Regions from separate parts of the Homo sapiens genome. Here region 1 is linked to region 2. Evidence: promoter capture Hi-C in human tissues and cell types (Jung and others, 2019). All regions are on one chromosome and are shown on one strand. The core of a region is centred on a gene start or on the middle of the fragment in contact, and the rest is flanking DNA. Distances in the headings are between cores, read along the strand shown.

Region 1 (3,699 bases), core at 852-3,351, 51 kb after region 2:
ATGATCTAAAAATAAAAAAGTAAAACTTATTCCAAAAGCATAATAAAACTATATAAGCTGGTAACCTCCACTGGTCAGTCCAACTTAAAATTTGTTGAAACCACAAAACTTACCTGCATCATCAGATTCCTGAAACTGTGAGTAATCAACAACCTTCCTATTTCTGTAGAAAGAAGAGACTCTAATTAAAATCATAAAACTGTAGGATTTTTCTAAGACATCAGAACACACATTTCTCTTTCATAAACAGAACTGAACTAGCACTTTGAAAATTATTTAATTGCTGGACGTGGTGGCTCACACCTGTAATCCCAGCACTTTGGGAGGCCAAGGCTGGTGGATCATCTGAGGTTGGGAGTTTGAGATCAGCCTAACCAACATAGAGAAACCTTGTCTCTACTAAAAACACAAAATTAGCCAAGCGTGGTGGTGCATGCCTGTAATCCCTGCTACTTGGGAAGCTGAGGTAGGAGAATCACTTGAACCCAGGGGTCAGAGGTTGTGGTGAGCCGAGATACCTCCATTGCACTCCAGCCTGGGCAACAAAAGTGAAACTCCATCTCAAAAAAAAAAAAGAAAAGAAAAAAAAAGAAAATTATTTAATTAATTTTTTGAGACAGGGTGTCACTCTGTCGCCTAGGCTGGAGAGCAGTGACACAATCATGGCTCACTGCAACCTTGACCTACTGGGCCCAAGTAATCCGCCTGCCTCAGCCTCCTGAGTAGCTGGGACTACAGACGCATGCTGGCTAATTTTTTTTCATTTTTTGTAGAGACAGGGTCTCCTGGTGTTGCCCAGGCTGGTCTCAAACTCCTGAGCTCAGGTAGTCATCCTGCCTCAGCCTCCCGAAGTGCTGGGATTACAGGCACGAGCCACTGCACCCAGCCAAAAATTATTTTTTAAAGGCCCCCACTTAAGCCTAAGTACTTAACATTCTGTTATAAGAAAGCATAGCATAAACCACAAGTATGTCAAGCTACAATTCTCATACTGCTCATCTCAGTGATAATTCAAATACCATTCTTTTCTCTCTCTTTTTTTTTTTTTGAGATGAAGTCTTGCCCTGTCGCCCAGGCTAGAGTGCAATGGCGAGATCTTGGCTCACTGCAACCTCTGCCTCCCAAGTTCAAGCGATTCTCCTGCTTCAGCCTCCCGAGTAGCTGAGATTACAGGCGTGTGCCACCACGCCTGGCTAATATTTGTATCTTTAGTAGAGACGGGGTTTCACCATGTTGGCCAGGCTGGTCTCCCCTGATCTCGTGATCCGCCCGTCTTGGCCTCCCAAAGTGCTGGGATTACAGGCGTGAGCCACCGTGCCCGGTCTCAAATACCATTCTTTTCTACAAAACAATCTCCCGTCTCTCAAAACAAATATACATAAAACAGCAAAATGAGCCAAATCACCATGTACCTATGTATTCATTATATACAAAGATGCCCTATTTATAAGCTAAAGTTGTAAATGATATTTTACTCTTACTGCTACACACATATATATGTATACTTGATAAACAAGGTTATTACTAAGCTTTTCAAGGCAAAAGCAATTTTTAGGTATAGTACAGTTACATTATAATGCACAAAAATTATGGTAATGTTAAGCTTTATACAGAAGGGGAAGGAAACAAATTAATTGGTCCAGTCAAAAGATGCTTTATTTAAAAAACTATGAAAGCCTCACAGATTTATGTACATCTATGTATTTGACTCTATTCTTTTGTTTCTAAACTTTTTTTTTCCTTTTCCAATTTTACAGACCTGGTTTATCAGCAACATTTATAAAACTAGACCTCAGGAAAGAACTAGTTCTGGGGATATATGCATGGTCTTAATAAAGTGAATGGTTAGCCTGTCCTGACTATTACAAAATCAAAACAGTGAGAATATCTGCAGAATCTATTTGACTCTAAATGACTTTAAGTACTCCCTATCAAGTAACGTATCTTTAACATCTCAAACAAATCTTCATTTCTATTTTTGTACTCTGCACTCTAAATCTAAAAGTTTAATACTTCTTCTCTAGAGATATACATGTAAGCTTCCATGTTAGTACCCAAACAGCCTACCTGGCAAAAGAGCCTTAGATTAAAAAATGCACTGTTACTGTAGGCCTAAATTGATCAAGTGAACTTAAAAAATTAAGAGAAATAGGCCAGGCGCAGTGGCTCACGCCTATAATTTCACCACTTTGGGAGGCCGAGGCGGGCAGATCACGAGGTCAGGAGATTGAGACCATCCTGGCCAACGTGGTGAAACCCCGTCTCCACTAAAAATACTAAAAAATTAGCTGGGTGTGGTGGCGGGCGCCTGTAGTCCCAGCTACTCGGGAGGCTGAGGCAGGAGAATGGCTTGAACCCGGGAGGCAGAGCTCGCAGTGAGTGAGCCAACATCACGCCACTGCACTCCAGCCTGGGCGAAAGAGAGAGACTCCGTCTCAAAAAAAAAAAAAAAATTTAAGATAAATATACATTACCACCTATACTTAAACCTGAGCAGAGGGATATTCTTGGCTGTATAGATTAAGACACCATTTAAATTCAAAGACAGGATGGTCAGACTGCAAACACTGGTCCACCTTCTAGTATAGTATGTGGAGATGGTATGGATGGAGGTGAATTCTGGAAAAAAAGGCTTGGGCTTATATGTAGAGGAATATATAGTTACATACTCAGCATTAGAAAGAGAAAAAACAAGGCTCTTAAGGAGTTCCACCTTCTGTTTTTCTTTAGTTTAACAAAACTATAAAATATACTCCAACTATATATTTTATTGTAAGAAGCTGAGTTTATATTACCAAAGATACTATATTATTAGGAAAGCTAACTTTAAATATGACTATTAATTCCATGTACATGAGGGACCTAGAGTAGATGAATTCAGAGAGACAGAAAGTAGAGTGGTGGTTGCCAGAGGCTGGAAGAGTGGGGATGAGGAGCTGTTGTTTAGTGGGTTTAGTTTCAGTTTTGCAAGATTAAGAGTTCTTTACAACAATGTCAAGTACTTAACAATACTGAACTATACACTTAAAAATGGTTAACATGGGCCGGGCACAGTGGCTCATGCCTGTAATCCCAGCACTTTGGGAGGCCAAGGTGGGCGGATCATGAGGTCAAAAGATCGAGACCATCCTGGCCAACATGGTGAAAACCCGTCTCTAGTAAAAGTACAAAAATTAGCTGGGCGTGGTGGTGCGTGCCTGTAGTGCCAGCTACTTGGGAGACTGATGCAGGAGAATTGCTTGAACCTGGGAGACAGAGGTTGCAGTGAGCAGGGATCGCACCACTGCACTCCAGCCTGGCAACAGAGCAAGACTCTGTCTCAAAAAAAAAAAAAAAAGTTAAGATGGTAAATTTTATGCTAAGCATATTTTATTACAATAAAAATATATTTTCTTTCTTAAAAATATGACTATGAAAAAATCTAATATTTTTGGGCTACTATGGAAATGCCTGCCATGTTCTGGCAAAACAGTGATTTTTTAATGACAAATGCCATGAAAAATAGTATGATGATCATAATGCAAACACGACCATTTTCTGTATTATTTAGGATAAAAAAAATGGGTCATAGAACCAGGGGAAGAAAGGTATCTAGAAGAGGAACTCTTACATCTTATCCTCTAATAATTAAAATACAGGTTCCGAACTTGTAGGTATAATTCTAGCTTATCCCATGCTTGTGGGGTGGCAACTAACATA
Region 2 (3,289 bases), core at 665-3,164:
GAGGGATGGGGAAGTTCACCACACACTCCATGAATACATAGGAAAACTCCCCCTAACACACACCCACTAAATTGGGGCCTGTCTGTCCACAGCTGTACATTCATCCACAGCTGTATTTTTATCTTCAAACTCATTCTGCTGACTCAAGCTGCATTTTCTGAGCACTTTCAGAACAACAGAGTCCTGGCTCCACGACAGGCCTGGTGGGAGGAGATAAGGGAGGAATGAGGGAATGGGACTGATCCAACAGAATGGCCTGCGACCTCAAATTGCGTCCCACTTATCCCCTACAATATGCTGCTCTATGGGTTTCCTCAGGCTTCCCGTCTAGCCTGGGCCTCCTGGGCCCTCCCACTCCCACCCCAATAGGCCAGCCTGTTTCCCAGGCCTCGGGCAGGTGAGTCTACACCAAGGCGGTCTCTGCTCTGAAAGGAGATCTGCTAAGTGCCTCAGGAAAGGTAGTCCGAAGCCCCTAGGACCTCAACCCCACCCCTGAGCAAAGGTTCCAGGACCCCAGCAAGGGTCACTGCGGGCCCTGGTCAACTGGCAATGCCCGGCTGCAGACTCCAGGGCAGCAAGACAGCAGCTGGGCTATTCTTAGTCCCTGCTCCACCGGGACCGGGTCTGTGTAACAGCTGAAGGGCGAGTCCTCACCAGGTACCCACCATGCCAAACCCCTCCCTACCCCCAACTCTGGCCCCTTGGAAAAAGAGGAAGCATAGGGAACACGCCCTGGAGTGGGGAAAAGCTGAGCAGGTCAAGAGTGTCTGTCAGGAAGATGGAGGCTGATTCAGAGGTCAAGGGCAAGAGCAACTCACAGGACTGCAGTGCCTGGGGGGAGCGGAAGACTACAGGAAGGCCTGACCCGCACTAGGGAGAAAGCATGCAGGTCCCTGGGGCTTTTCTAGCAAGCCTGCCTAGGCCCAGAGCTCTGAGAAGCTGCACGGGATGCCTAGGTACCACCACATCACACCTGTTTGCCGTTTGCAGAACTCTGTCCTTCCCCACCTGAGACCTGGGAGGCGAGGAGAAAACAGCGGCCTTTCTCTCCCCACAGAGGGGGAAACTGAGGCTGAAAAGGGGACACAGTAACACACACACACACACACACACACACACACACACACACACGGTCCAGTCCCAACTCTGTACCCAGAGCTCGCCCCAGTTCTAAGTCCAAGAGGGCTCAGTCCCCTTTCCCTGTCTTAATAACTCACTCTTCCTCAAGAAAGCCGGCCTGGGCCTGAGCACCCCGCGGCGCCGCGGCCGTCGGCTCCCGTCCCGGCTCCCCCAAGTCCCGGACTGTGCGCGCCGCAGTGACTCATCCTGCCCCTTTCCGGTGAAGCCCAGACAAGAGAAGAAAATAAACGCAACTTTCCAAAGAAAAGTCTGACACGGGAGGCTGCAACAGGAGCCAGCGGCCGGTCCGCCAGCCGTCGGCCCGGCCCGGTCCGGCCCGGCCCGGGGCTCCGGGGAGGGGCCGCTCCCCGCCCACACCGCCGCCCCGCCTGGGACAGCGCGGGCACCTCCTGCCTGCCCGCCCTCCGCGGAAGAAAGCACAGCTCAGCGGGGACCCGTGCAGGCGCCGGGCACTCGGCACCCGCCCCGGCAGAGCGTGTGGGACGCGCCCTCCTCTGGGATTCGCGCGGGGCTCGGCGCGCAGCGCCCCGGACGGCCACGGCGCAGCCCCATCCCGCGGGGCGCAAAACACGCGACAGCGCGGAGCTCGGCCGTGCACTGCTGCTCCCTTTCCCGCGCCGGGACCCTCACCCCTGGGAGAGGAGGGGGCGCGCTCCTACCTGGCCGAGGCGCGCGGCTGTCACCCGGAGCCAGCGCGTGCAGGCTGGTTCCGCCCCCCCTTCCTTGCCCCCCACGCGCGCCAGCCGGCGGCTTTTAAATCTCCAGGTTACTCCGCGGGGGGAGAGAGCATGCGCGCTGGGACTGCCAGGAGGGGGGCGGGGCGAGGCGGGACGGAGGTGGGGGGTGCTGCGAGGGGGGATAGAGGGGTGGGGCTGGTACCCAGGGGAAGAAAGCGGGAGGTCTCGAAGCTGGCTTTGTAGCCGCGCCGCGACGGGCAGCCCCCGCGTGGCTCCCAGACTGCCCTATCATTACCTAGGGCAGGGCACCGCCCCCTCTGTCGCTCGCCACCAAACATTTAGGTGAAAGCTACCCGGCTTCGCGGGGCACCTCCCCTCCCCTACTCGGAGCCAGTCTGCTGCGACCATTACCCAGGCGTGCCATTCTGGCCACCCGATCTCCAGGCAGAGCTGCTCCCTACCTGTCCAGGACCATCCCTTCAAAGGAGATGTCACATTCTCTCCGAATTACCCTTCTGCTCTTTGCTATTCTCCGACGCAGACAGAGCTAACTCAATCCCTCTTTCTGCGCTGAAAACCAAATTCCAATTTTTTTTCTTCTTAAGAGTGTGTACGGGGAAGAATGGATGATAAATTGCCAATGAAATGTTCTCTTTGTCAGCTGTTGAGCAAGGTCCGAACAGATACCTGTTCCAGAATGTCTTTGATGGAGTCCCAGGCTGGCCCTGGGGTTGGGGGTTGGGGGGCAGTTTTGTCTTTTTTTCCTCCATGGAGTTTTATTGGGTGGAGAGAAATCCAATTTAGTTGGATTGTTGACTTGAATACTACAAAGTCCCAGGAAGATGCCTTCGAAGGGGAAGACCTGGTTGGCCTTAGCCAACCAGGCACTGGGGCACTGGGTTCCAATGCTGGCCCTGTGTCAACAGCCGTATAACGTGGGCCAAGTCCCTTCCATGTTCTGGGCCTCTGTAAGAGGGGGTGAGCCAAATGATTTCTAAGGGCACCTTCCAGCTGAGAGGTAGAAGGAGGCAGAGAAGAAAGGGAGATAGAGAAGGGAGAGGAAATAGTGGCGCCCTGGTGGTAGTGGGGAACAGAGAGCAGGTGCCAGAGAGAGTTGAGAAGAGAAAAATCAAGAATCTACCTTCTGAGTCACTAAACAAGTTTAACTTGAAAACTGTCTCAGCGTTGCCTCCCTGGAGCAGACACACCTCTACCTGGGGACCCTCCTGGAGATGGCTTTCCAAAGTCTTTGGCATACCCTCTCGTGGCAAGCAGAGAGACTAGGGTGGAGTCCAGGGTCTCTGAGCTGGTGTCCCCTCTCCTCCAGGAAAGAGGTCAGGAGTCAGGGGAAATTTCAGGTCAGCTGGAAAATTACAGAGCCAGGAGAGAGTGGACGGTGGTATTTTGCAGGCTTGGGAAAGAACACTGGGAACATGAGAGAGTTGTCGCACCACAGACAAGTAAGAGCCCCC

Evidence for each region. The method cuts DNA at HindIII sites, captures the fragments that hold promoters and counts their contacts. A contact is called where the count stands out against the background at its distance.
Region 1: a fragment that was not itself captured here is called in contact with the fragment with the promoter of SLC45A3 in region 2 in 8 of the 25 tissues and cell types used here (H1 embryonic stem cells, aorta, bladder and 5 more).

What each region holds. Positions count from the first base shown.
Region 1 is chr1:205,729,459-205,733,157 of GRCh38, forward strand. It overlaps NUCKS1 (nuclear casein kinase and cyclin dependent kinase substrate 1), which reads right to left. Exons shown (of 7, transcript NM_022731.5): 2 at 114-163. LOC124900423 (small nucleolar RNA SNORA72) reads right to left here and starts at 1,894; the gene lies at 1,763-1,894. The HindIII fragment of the contact is 6,338 bases long and covers 1-3,699 here.
Region 2 is chr1:205,678,595-205,681,883 of GRCh38, forward strand. It overlaps SLC45A3 (solute carrier family 45 member 3), which reads right to left and starts at 1,915. Exons shown (of 5, transcript NM_033102.3): 1 at 1,800-1,915. LOC105371701 (a long non-coding RNA gene) reads left to right here and starts at 1,776. Exons shown (of 4, transcript XR_007066825.1): 1 at 1,776-1,905. RefSeq lists a silencer at 1,460-1,679. The HindIII fragment of the contact is 16,856 bases long and covers 1-3,289 here.